Linked DNA regions of Homo sapiens: regions 2 and 3 are each linked to region 1. Evidence: promoter capture Hi-C in 16 types of primary human blood cells and fetal thymus (Javierre and others, 2016). All regions are on one chromosome and are shown on one strand. The core of a region is centred on a gene start or on the middle of the fragment in contact, and the rest is flanking DNA. Distances in the headings are between cores, read along the strand shown. Region 1 holds the start of CLDND1 (claudin domain containing 1). Region 2 holds the start of SENP7 (SUMO specific peptidase 7). Region 3 overlaps TFG (trafficking from ER to golgi regulator).

What was found. The method cuts DNA at HindIII sites, captures the fragments that hold promoters and counts their contacts. A CHiCAGO score of 5 or more calls a contact.
Region 2: the fragment with the promoter of SENP7 here is called in contact with the fragment with the promoter of CLDND1 in region 1 in 1 of 17 cell types (total B cells); the score reaches 5.3 in total B cells.
Region 3: a fragment that was not itself captured here is called in contact with the fragment with the promoter of CLDND1 in region 1 in 2 of 17 cell types (total B cells and non-activated CD4 T cells); the score reaches 6.3 in total B cells.

What each region holds. Positions count from the first base shown.
Region 1 is chr3:98,520,879-98,525,009 of GRCh38, forward strand. It overlaps CLDND1 (claudin domain containing 1), which reads right to left and starts at 2,024. Exons shown (of 5, transcript NM_001040181.2): 1 at 1,971-2,024; 2 at 255-564. The coding sequence starts at 546. CLDND1-AS1 (CLDND1 antisense RNA 1) reads left to right here and starts at 1,692. Exons shown (of 2, transcript NR_198998.1): 1 at 1,692-1,955. RefSeq lists silencers at 1,471-1,580, 1,631-2,270 and an enhancer at 3,473-3,602. The HindIII fragment of the contact is 2,905 bases long and covers 1,207-4,111 here.
Region 2 is chr3:101,511,320-101,515,450 of GRCh38, forward strand. SENP7 (SUMO specific peptidase 7) reads right to left here and starts at 1,893. Exons shown (of 24, transcript NM_020654.5): 1 at 1,772-1,893. The coding sequence starts at 1,811. The HindIII fragment of the contact is 4,750 bases long and covers 1-2,660 here.
Region 3 is chr3:100,721,097-100,725,227 of GRCh38, forward strand. All of the region lies in intron 3 of TFG (trafficking from ER to golgi regulator), which reads left to right. Among named protein-coding and RNA genes, the nearest start is that of TFG, 14 kb to the left of the region's middle. The HindIII fragment of the contact is 518 bases long and covers 1,916-2,433 here.

The DNA.
Region 1 (4,131 bases), core at 774-3,273:
GTAAATAAGAAAAAAAAAAGCCATTAAGGCTTTCCCAAGATAAGAAAAGTTCCTCATCCAACCAATATTGATGAGTACCATGGTAATGCAAAGAAGTTGGGGAGAGAAGGCAGTAGAAAGAGAAGATACACGATTTATTTCTTTAAGGAGAGAGAGAACCAACAAACCTGCTTACATGTAATTGGGCAATCATTACGTCGTTTTGTCTATTATTAACCAGGTGAAGAAGACAGAAGTTAAAATAAGAGAAATACCTGTCCTTTCTGGTGGGCTATACCAATGCATGTTTTTGGGTATGGTGATACACCGTCTCCACAATCCCACTGTGCCATTGTATCGAAAAAGTGCATCATTATAAGTCTTTTCATCTGCCTCATCACTAATGAATTCATCCCAGATGCTTTTATTCAAATCACTGGAATTTTCTTGAACTGGACTTCGATATTCATACCAGAAGTCTGTGCCAATGGAGGCTGCCATGTAGATGGTGGAAATGAGGCTAAGCACACAAGCAATTACAAATGCTGTAGCAAAACGGTTATCCATTCTGGCATTCAGACTGCTCTGTTTAGAAGTTGAAGAAAGAAGATAAGTTAGAGTTTACGGACAAATAAGAAAGATTATTTTGAATTATTCCAAATGCACCCTTTACCCAATTCCCCATCCCTTCGTACATATAACCATTAAGAATTTTTTTTAGAAAGCAAGCATGTTTTTAATTAAGCTTAAAACAAAACTCATTCTCATAAAAGTACTTATTGAATGCTCACATACCCAGGATGCTACGGAGACAGAGGTCTTGTTCTCTAGTCTATCACCTGCATACTAAAACAGACAACACTGAAATGGACATACACATTACAGATACAAACAATAGACATGCCCATGGTCAGCAGTGTACCGTGCACACATTTTAAATTACAGACTGAATTTTTGCACGAGCTGCAGAGGATTAAGTGTTCTGGGTTTGAGTGTTAAAAAGGCACAGGAAAAAGAAGCAGTGGAAATTGGCTTCTCCCAGTTTCCTCTGAAGAGGGAAGCCTCCTAAAACAAAGGTAAGAGTCAGGAGCCATACAGAAAACAGAGTTGAAGATGTTTGTTAACCCCGAGGGAAAGGTTGTTCTAGGTGTATAAAATAGCAAAGAGAACAATAACATGTAATAATGCTAGATAGCAATCTCTCCCTAATCCATTAAAGCTAAGCCAAGCTTCTTTACGCTGCCAAATGCTTCACTCCTATCTACTCTCCCGATTCCTTATACTTCTGAACCTCCTCAACAGAAATCTTGCTCTCTCCCTAAATCCTCAGTGCAACATACGTCCGCAAAAACTAAATGATCCCTCCTCAGCCAGACAGAAAACTCTCAACATATCAACACTCCCAAGGCGTGGACAGGGCTCAACGGCAGTAGTAAATGGCCGCGGTAAAATGACTCAAGGCAGATCGCGCTGAGTCAAATACTACACGGCAAGTATACACCGTGACCGCACCAAACACCTTACAAAGGTTCATGAAAACAGACTCGCAAACTGGGGTTGCTGAGTTTGGAAAATGGGAAGTGACTCAGGAAAGATAAGAGCAATGACAACGAAAACTCAAAAAGTTGGATTTGTATTTTGATTTTTTAAAAATCCCCCCTTCATCCTGGTGCTCTCAAATGACCTTAAAGGGTCCCAGCACTGGGAACGGCGGTTCGTCCAAGCCGGACGCCTGCAGCAGCCACCTCCTGGGCCTCACGGCGGGGCCGGAGAAGGCCAGGGCTGGGGCGGGGCAGCCGTGCTCGGCCCCGGGCCAGGGTCCCCCGGTACCCGACCAGGCCCCGCCCTAGAGGGCTCGGCCCTGGGACAAATCCGCCGCTCGGAACCCGCCCAGCCCGACCACGCCCGGGAAGGGGGCCCCTCTTCAAACCGCCGGGAACATGGAACCGCGACGCGACCCCTGCCCGGCGACGCAGGTCCCGCTCACTCACCGCCCATCCTCCTGCTCCGCCAGCTTCACCCTCTAGCTCAGACCACAGCACCCTACTCTCCCCGCGCCTCCTCTGACGCACTTCCCTGCAGAGCCCGCCCCCTCCATAACTCCCGCGCCTCCGCCCGCCCCCACTCCGGGCCGGGCCGCGGCCCGGGGCCGAGGGGCCTTGTGGGAGTTGTAGGAGGGACAGACTGAAAGCTGTCTGAGGCGGCGATAGGCATTCCTGGCGCCGCGCGCGGCGCATTGTGGGAGATGTAGTTCAGCTCCTCAGGGCAAGCCGGTACGCAGAAGGGAAGTCTAGGCTGTTGGATTCTTGCATTTTAGGGAGGAAGGGAGAATGGTCCAGAAAGTAAAGCGGGCCTGTTTCCGGTCATCTCGAGTCAATGACCGTGACTTGTATAACTTAGATCTGACTTTTAGGCCTGTGCTTTCCCTATCACACCACCCTGCCTCTAGATCTAAGTATAAATGAACAAAAATGGGATTCTACTTGTGAAACGTTGACCCATTTTATTTCCCTCTCCCAGAATCCCTCCCATTGGAGCAGAGCATCCTTCTGGTTTTATTGCATAAGTTTAGGCTAAGAAGTATGTGACCTGGCAGACAGTATCCATCAAGAATGTAATGATATTATTTGGGTTTCATAAAATGTGTTTGTAGCTGCCTTCTTTTTATGACAAGTGATACTAGTTTTCTATTGCAGCAATGTTGTTCCTTTTAAATTCTTTTCACTTATTTTAAAAACTATTAAGTTAATAATACTGAGGATACCAGATATGTCAAAAAATGAATAAAAAATTGTGGGTATAGTAGGAAAAAGACTGAAATTTGGGGAACATCACTCAAGCAGATAAGGTCATGGACAGCATTGGAGATTGCAGATGATGTGTGGCACAGGGGCAACAATGATTCTGAACCCTCAGGTTTAACACAGAAATTCATGGACAGGAAGCAGGGACATCTTAACAATAACATGAGTGGAACTATTAACGTGGCCTGGGACCAGCAAATGGTGGATTTCTCAACAGTAACCGACAGAGAAAGCTGACTCAAGGACCAGAGGGGCTCTCAAACCCCCACTCTGTCCCCTAATGCCTTGTAATTTAGCATAGGAGAAAGATGGGAGCTGCAAGTTGATATTAAATTTCTACCACTTTGACAGATTAAAGGCATGATATGTTTCTCTATCTGTACTTACATTTCTTTGACCTGAGTGGGTGAAACTGATATTCATATGCAGCACATAATAAGGTAGTAGCCAAATATATTCAAACATGACTCTGGATTTTCATATACAGCATATAATCAAAAAAAAATTTGTCAGAGGCACCAACTAGAGAAAGTGATGGAGAGGCACAGGCAAATTGTCAATGTGTAGTAAGACACATAAATGCCCTTATACTCCAGGAAATGTCTTCATCCATTGGCCTTCATTAGAAATCCCCTATTTTCCGCCGGGCATGGTGGCTCACGCCTGTAATCCCAGCACTTTGGGAGGCCGAGGCGGCAGATCACGAGGTCGGGAGATCGAGACCATCCTGGCTAACACGGTGAAACCCCGTCTCTACTAAAAATACAAAAAAATTAGCCAGGCGTGTTGGTAGGCGCTTGTGGTCCCAGCTACTTGGGAGGCTGAGGCAGGAGAATGGCATGAACCCGGGAGGCGGAGCTTGCAGTGAGCCAAGATCACGCCACTGCACTCCAGCCTGGGCGACAGAACAAGACTCTGCCTCAAAAAAAGAAATTCCCCACTTTCAGATTTACCTCTCCACTGAGATCATGTGGTCAGTAAACCAGGCAAAAGAGAAGTTTAAAGGAGAGAGAAGAAACAACTTCAGTCTACAGATAAAGGAACTAGAGAGAGTAACTGACTTGGTAGCAAACTTGGATATTAGAGTAACTGACTACCATGGTAACACACTTGAATATACTCATTTTGTGACTTTGGAGAATTAACCTTCTTTAAGTCTCGGTTGTCTTTTCTCCAAAATATGGATGTTGACAGTAGCATCTATCCCACATGATCATTGTGAAGATTGAGAAAAACATATAAAACGCCCAGCACAGGACCTGAGGTTTAGGAAAGAATCATTAAGTTATTAGTATTTGCAAATATTTGTTGAATATAATATTTGAGTAAGCTTAGTGAGAACAGTCTT
Region 2 (4,131 bases), core at 643-3,142, 3.0 Mb after region 1:
TACAAGGCAAATATCTTACCTTCCCTCCTCAAAAATGTATTAAACCTAGATGAAATGCATTTATTTAAAAAAGGTTGTGCATCTCAAAGGAAGATATGATCACACCTAAAGTTCTGTGTTAGGAAGCCCGCAAATGACACCAGCTAAGCATTGTGCGTTTTCCTAATGTGTCCATTTTACTTAGAGGTTTGGTGGGGGGTGGAGACTATTAAAACACTCATCAGTTGGAGGCATATACCTACATGTATGTATAAATATACATATATATCATTTATACATGTGCTTTCAAAGGAAAAAACTATTATCTCCAGAATATACACCAAGAACATCGATAACATTGGTTGCATATGAAAAGGGATTTCAGGTTTTCAACTGCTTCAAGCAGTGTCCCCAGAGATCCATAATCACTCTCCTTTGCAATTAAGGCTGAAAGCAGTTTGAGATGCACTGCCACAGGGCACTCCTAAATAAATTTGGAATTGGTTTTTTTTGTTTTTTTTTTGTTGTTGTTGTTGTTTGATACAGAGTCTCGCTCTGTTGCCCAGGCTGGAGTGCAGTGGTGCGATCTCGGCTCACTGCAAGCTCCGCCTCCCGGGTTCACGCCATTCTCCTGCCTCAGCCTCCTGAGTAGCTGGGACTACAGGCGCCCGCCACCACGCCCGGCTAATTTTTTGCATTTTTTAGTAGAGACGGGGTTTCACAATGTTAGCCAGGATGGTCTCGATCTCCTGACTTTGTGATCCGACCGCCTCGGCCTCCCAAGGTGTTGGCATTACAGGCGTGAGCCACCGCGCCCGGCCAATAAATCTGTAATTGTTAACTGTCTCTGCAGAAACCAACGGTACCATCAGAAACAGAAAAATGAAATGAAATAATTGATTCATTGGGCGTTCGTTTGTGTACTGGACTGTAAGCATATGAGTCCTCGTCCTCTCCTCCTACCATCCATAGGACTTAACACAAGGACTTGAGGACCCCCTAATGGATGAAATGTTTGATAAAAACTTCTCAACTGGGAGGAGCTCTACCTCACGTTTTTATAACTCCACTTTCTTGTTTCCAAGACGTTGTACACAAAACTGAAGATAGTCATTTAAAACAAAGTAACGTCCAAAACAAAAAATATGCTGAAAATAAAAACACAACGAAAGCACGGCTTCAAATCCTTTGTTTGACTTTCCAATCACTTTTGGAAGACGCAGGGTAGGCTGGAAAAGAAAAAGGCTATTAGGCGGGCCTGTTCAGCAGAACGAGACCCGGAGAGGCATTGTATCAAAGAAAAGGAGTCTCCGGTCGCAAGCCCCACCTTTCCTCCCCAGCAGCAGCTACCTGCTGAGGGAAAGAGGAGGGAGAGGGGAAGGGACGCAAAGTCGAGAATCAAAGGAAGAGAGGAAAGTGGGGTCAGGCGCTGAGAAGCCGAAATGAAATTGGAACATTGGTGGAATTACGAGGAAGGCGTGGCAGAGAGTGACAAGCCAACCGGGAAGATCCATGGGCCGATGAGACGCAAGGAGGGTGTTCGCGGGAGGAGGGAAAAAATAAAAGGGGTTTTGAGGTGAAGAGCGCCCGAGGCTTCGATGACAGCTCGGACCGGGTCTTCGACTCCAGGGGCGGGGGCGACCCGGGAGCCTTCCATTGTGCGCGCCCCTTCCTCTCCCCGCCCCCGCCCTCGCCCCCGCGGCTTCGGGCCGCAACCCCAGCTGCCGCCTGCGCCTCCCGTTTCCCCCGGGTAGGAGACAATATGTTCAGCCCTTCTCTGACCCTTTCTCACCGGATGAAGATGGCCGTCGCCCGAGCTTTCTCTTGTCCATCTTCTCCCGCTGCTGAAATTTCAGTTGCAGGCGCTGTCACCTCAGGACCCCTCCGGCTTGGAGAGGGAGGGGGAGGGGAAAGGAAAAAAAAAAAAAAAAAAAAAAAAAAAAAAAAGCCCGCAAAGTGCGAAGCGCGCTTGCGCAAGAGCCGTCGCCTGCCCTTCGACCGGAAATCAGCCGCCCCTCCCACCTTCGACCGGAAATCACTTCCTGGGACTTTTCACTGTGGGCTGCCTCTTCCAGCGTTTTTTTGGTGGCGTTTATTTCATGATCTGAGCCCCTCTGGGGAGGTGAACCACCTGGGTGCTCGATTTTAGCTTTGTTGACTTTGAAGATTAGATTGACAAAAATTAAAAGGGAAAAACAGGAACTCCTCCGGTTCACTGGATCTCGCGAGGTGGCCAAACAACTATGAAAACAAAACGTTAGCGTTTGCAGTATTACATCCCTCACAGCCTCTCTTACATATTTGCCCCCAACGCCTTTCCTCGAACTCAGAAACCAAAAGATTTTAAGATGGCAAAATCACCTAATAATAGCCTAGCTATTAGTTTAGCATTTGCTGTGGAAATATGTCAGCAGACGAGGAAAAATGTCTTAGGATTCCTTTTTAAAATTCGAACTTGTGATTTTTAAAGTTCCTTAAAAGAAAAGCTAGAACTTAATTTTTCAATAACTGAAATGCTGATATGACAGAAAGTGGGTGGCTATAAACTTGGAATTTGTTCAATTAACATTTACCACGATACTTAAGGGACTAATCCAGTCCTCAATGAACTCAAGGTCTGGTACTATTAGCCTGATTATCCCTAATGGTGCATATCTGAATAATTTTTAAATGCACGTGTAAGCTTTCATGACGATTTAATCACAAGTTTAACAAAATTCAGCACAGTGCTCTAAGCAGGGAAAATGTTTCTGGCATGTTCAAAGCCCGAAGGGACTCTGGAAGTAGGGTTTGATTCCCAAGCTGGCCCCTTTATACCCCTAACGCCTATCCCTCCAACCCCCATCTCCCATCCTAACGGAGTCAATAAAGGGATCGGCCCAACTCGTCCACTAGAGCAGTCCCCTTCATCGTGAGTTAAGCCTTCTTAATTATAATGTGGTCAGTCCCCAGGTAGAGGTAAGGCCCCAGGTGTTGTGGGGTGTTGGGCCTGGGGAAGTGTTCTACATGGCAGGAATGACTGCAAAGCAGAAATACTTTAAGTCTTGCTGGGATTGAAGTTTACTGTAAGGATTTCGTTTTATTTGGTTAATTTCTGTTTAACAAAAACATTGCTTTCTGAAAAATAATTGAATTTTCAGTTTCCTCACAAATTAACTTTTTTTTTTTTTTGAGACGGAGTCTCGCTCTGTCGCCCAGGCTGGAGTGCAGTGGCACAATCTCGGCTCGCTGCAAGCTTCACCTCCTGGGTTCACGCCATTCTCCTGCCTCAGCCTCCCGAGTAGCTGAGACTACAGGCGCCCGCCACCACGCCCGGCTAATTTTTTGTATTTTTTAGTAGAGATGGGGTTTCACCATGTTAGCCAGCATGGTCTCGATCTCCTGACCTCGTGATCCGCCCGCCTCAGCCTCCCAGAGTGCTGGGATTACAGGCGTGAGCCACTGCGCCTGGCCCAAATTAACTTTTTTAACTAAAGAACTTAACTGATTCTAAAGTCAAGCTGGGCCGGACACAGTGGCTCGCGTCTGTAATCCCAGCACTTTGGGAGGCCGAGGCAGAATAGATTGAGCCAAGACATTCCAGACCATCCTGGGCAACAAAGCAAGACCCCCCTCTCCACAAAAATATACAGGCCAGATGCTATGACTCACCCTTGAGCCCAGGAGTTTGATACCAGCCTGGGCAATATAGTGAGACCTCCTCTCTACAAAGAAAAAAACTAGCCACACGTGGTGGCGCATGCCTGTAGTCCCAGGTACTCAAGAGGCTAAGGCAGGAAGATCACTTAAGCCCATGGAGTTAAAAGTTGCAGTGAGCCTTGATCAGGCCACTGCATTCCAGCCTGGGCGACAGAGCCAGACTGTCTCGGAAAAAAAAAAAAAAATGACCCGGGCACGGTGGAGCACACCTATAGTCCCCGGCTACTGGGGAAGATGAGATTTAAGGATTACTTGAGTCCAGGACTTTGAGGCTGCAGTGAGCTATGATCGCTACACGGTACTGCGGCCTGGGCGACACACAGATACCCTGTCTCCAAAAAACATAAAAAATAAACTTCCCAGACGATTCTGTTGCATACTCCAATTTGGTAAAACCAACACTTAGTGACATCTGCTTTTTTCTTTTTCCTATCTCTAATATTCTTTTTTCTA
Region 3 (4,131 bases), core at 925-3,424, 2.2 Mb after region 1:
AAAATAAAGGTATCTTTTTACAGTATTGAATGTAAAATACTTAACTATTGACTAGGCATAAAGCAGATTAGATAATCTGAAGACCCTTACTTTAAACAGGATCTGCTAGATAAACTTACAAATGTGTTTTCTGAATTCTGTAACTCAGCTTGCACAGGAAAGTAAGGGAAATATCCAGGGAACAAAAAAGTAGAGGGAACTAAAGGCCTGATGTACCAAAAGCTGAAACTTGGGGTGTTCTTGGTGGTGATAGTAGAGATTTTAGCCTGCATAATTTAAGGAATTGCCATCTGGTGTCTACATGGTGTAGGCCCTTGGTCCTAGTCCCTCAGTAGGCCATGCTTTCAAAAAGAATATTTTAGAAAAGTCTACCTTGATACAGGGAAAGTCAAGGAAGCTTAACTCTTATACCTTGGGCCGTCAGGGGCTTGGGAAGTCTCCCTTCAGGATTCATAATTGTGGTCCTTAGGTGAGTTGGGTTTAAATTTAAACTATCCATGTAGTTTGGTAACTCCCAAGCCCAGATGTTACCATTTTAGAAAAATCTCAGAAGAAAGGCCAAAATCTCTCTTGAGGGGTATATTCTCAATCCAGGTCACATAGGTTTCTCACAGACAAAACCGTAAGACACATGAAGCTGTCAGGTAAGCAAGAACCACTGGACACAACTAATAGCAGGATTAGATTTTCAACAACTTCAGTTAAGATATGTGATAGTCTACAAAATTAAAAGTTATTTAAGACATAGAAGAAGGAATAAGAATATAAAAGCAGCCGGCCGTGGTGGCTCACGCCTGTAATTCCAGCACTTTGGGAGGCCAAGGCGGGCGGATTGCCTGAGTGCAGGAGTTCGCGACCAGCCTGAGCAACACGGTAAAACCCTATCTCTACTGAAATGCAAAAAATTAGCCAGCTGTAGTGGTGTGTGCCTGTAGTCCCAGCTACTTGAGAGGCTGAGGCAGGAGAATTGCTTGAACCTGGGAGGTGGAGGTTGCAGTGAGTCGAGATCGCGCCACTGCACTCCAGCCTGGGTGACAGAGTGAGACTCCATCTCAGAAAAAACAAAACAAAACGAGAACATAAGAGCAAGATGCTATTGTATTATGGAAAAACAATAAACAGATTTTATAAAGAACTTAAAGTAACTTGGAAATGAGAAATATAATCATTGAAATTAAATACTAAGTGGATAGGTTAAACACATTAGTCATAGCTAAAAAGAGAATTAGTGAACTGAAAAGGAAATCCAAAGAAATTACAGAGTAAAGCACAAAAACACAGGCAAAAGAGAAGTTGAAAATGAGAACATCCAGAATATTTCTATTCAGAGTTTCAAGAAGGAGAGAATGGGAGAGTGGAAATACATTGAGGTAATGACTAAAGAAATTTTCAGAGTTATATAAAAGCTATAGACCCTCAGATTCAGAAGGCACGGGGAGCCTTGAGCAGGGATAAGTAAAAGTAAATCCCCACTGGACATATTGTCATGAAACTGGAAAATGTCTTAAGACAGAGAGATTACCTTAAAAGTAGCCAGAGAGAATAAGACTGATCACATATGAAACAATTAGACTGTTAGTAGACTTCTTCATAGTAATAATAGAGGCTAAAAGACAGTATTATCACAGTTGCAAACAGTAAAGAAAAATAACTAGAAAAGTAGCATCCTATACTCCACTAAATTTCACGAATGAGGAGAAGTAAAAATACTTTGAAAGACTGAGAATTTACCACTCATGGACCCTTGTTAAAATAATTTTTAACAGTGGTCTTCATCAAGAAGGAAATTTAGTCCAGAAGGTGGTGAAAGATGCAAGAAGCAATGTGAGCAGATAAACTGTTGCTTGGTCAGTAGGCTATGCTTTCAAAAACTATTTTAGAAAAGCTTTTCCATTGATACAGAAAAAGTCAAGGAAGCTTAACTCTTAAACCTTGGGCTGTCAGGGGATTGGGAAGCACCAATGAAATTTATGTGTACGTTTTAATGAGCATTGATTGTTACAAAATTAATAGTCTTAGGGAATAAAAACAATTTGGGACAAAAATACTGGGCAATAATATGTAAGAAAGGAAGGGATGATAGGAATAAAAATATTTTAAGGACTTATTTGGGAGGAACATTGTAATTACCTTTAGATTTTTTTAATTGCATACTACATATGCAGAAGTATGCATGGTGTACATGTAAGAGTTATAATTGAAAAATTAGACATTGTCAGGAAAGGAGAAAAAAAGAAAACAAGGGTACCTGTTCAGTTCAGTAGAAAGTGGTGGCGGAATAAAAGAGGTAGAAAGCTCAATAGATAGAACAGAATACTAATCACAGTACACAGAAATTGACTACATATATCGGTTAAAATAATCTCTTAATGGAATTTTAAAAAAAATCCAGTTCCATGCTACTTCCAAGAGACATAAAAGATTATTATGCAAAGCTTGAAAGTAAAGGGCTAGGAAAAGAGACTAGACAAATGCAAAGAAAGCTGGTTATTAACAGAATAGACTTATATAAAAACTTGAGTAGTAATAGTCACTTTATGATGATAAAAAGAATAATTCACTAGGACTATATAGCAATCTGAACACTTATGCATGTTAGCTTTAGATGTTTTCCCCTAAGAAAAATTGACAGAACAAAGAGAAATCAATAAATTTACAATTATGGGAGAGCCGATAAATCAAGCAGGCTCAAACAGCGTTGGTCTTGTACATCTAGCAGTTAGGGAGAAATACAGTTTTTTTTTTTTTCGAGTACTCATAGTGCATTATAGAAGTTGACTGTAAGTCAAGTCTTCCAGAAAATCCCAAAATGTAACAGATAATTAGATATCTTAAAGGTCATATTCTCTGGCTTCTTTAGAGACTATTGGACAGAATATGTAACCCAAATTTCCCTACTTTTGGAGACAAAATATGGTTTTAAATAAGTCAAAGAAGAAATAATAATGGGAATTATAAATAAGTAGATAATGACTTCTATGTAACCAAGTTTTTAGAGAATGCTAAAGCTGTACTTAGAGTAGTACTTACAGCCTTAAATACTTTATATTAGTAAACTGGATTGGAAATTTTTGAGCAAGGTATTCAAACAGTTACAAAAGGACAAACCTCAAATAACTTGGAAGGAAATAATAAGAGCAGACGTGAACTAGAAATTGGAATTGTTAGGATCAACAATTTTGAAAAGATGCAGTTGGCAAATCTTTATGAGGATTAGTTAAGGAGAAACAAGGCACAAATAAGCAATGTTAGAAATGAAGTTTATAGTAGAAACTTTAAAAATTTATATATACCATGAATTCCTTTATTTAAATTTGAAAACTCAGGTGACATGGACAGTATCCTAGGTAAATTTAATGTACTGTTTCAAGAAGTAGAAAAATTGGTTGCCCCAATTAACATTAAAGAAATTGGGCCAACTATTTTACCAAATATCTAAGGAACAGATGATTCTAAATTATACAAACTATTCAAGAGCATAGGCAAAGAGGGAATATACACTAATTCATTTTGTGGGGTTAATATAACATTAACATGAAAACCAGCCAAGGAAAATGCAAACCAGTGTCACGTATGAACATAGATAGAAAATATTAAGTAATATTTACAAATCAAACTCATCAGTGAATATTTAAACACACCAGTGTCAAAATTGCTCACCCAAGGAGTCTAAGATTGCTTTAAATTAGAAAATCACATACTATTTTCCATAAAACAGATTAAAGGAGAAAAACTAGATCATCTCTAGATAAAGAAAAGCCATTCATATCTCAATCATGTTGAAAAGTCGTAGCAAACTATGAATAAAAGGGAATTCTTTTTTGTGAGGCAGAGTCTCTCACTGTTGCCCAGGCTGGAGGGCAGTGGTGCGATCTCAGCTCACTGCAAGCTCCGCCTCCGGGGCTCACCCCATTCTCCCATCTCAGCTTCCCGAGTAGCTGGGACTACAGGCACCTGCCACCACGCCCGGCTAATTTGTTTTTGTATTTTTAGTAGAGACGGGGTTTCACCGTGTTAGCCAGGATGGTCTCGATCTCCTGACCTTGTGATCTGCCTGCCTCGGCCTCCCAAAGTGCAGGGATTACAGATATGAGCCACCACGCCTGGCCAAAAGGGAATTCTTTTACCTCA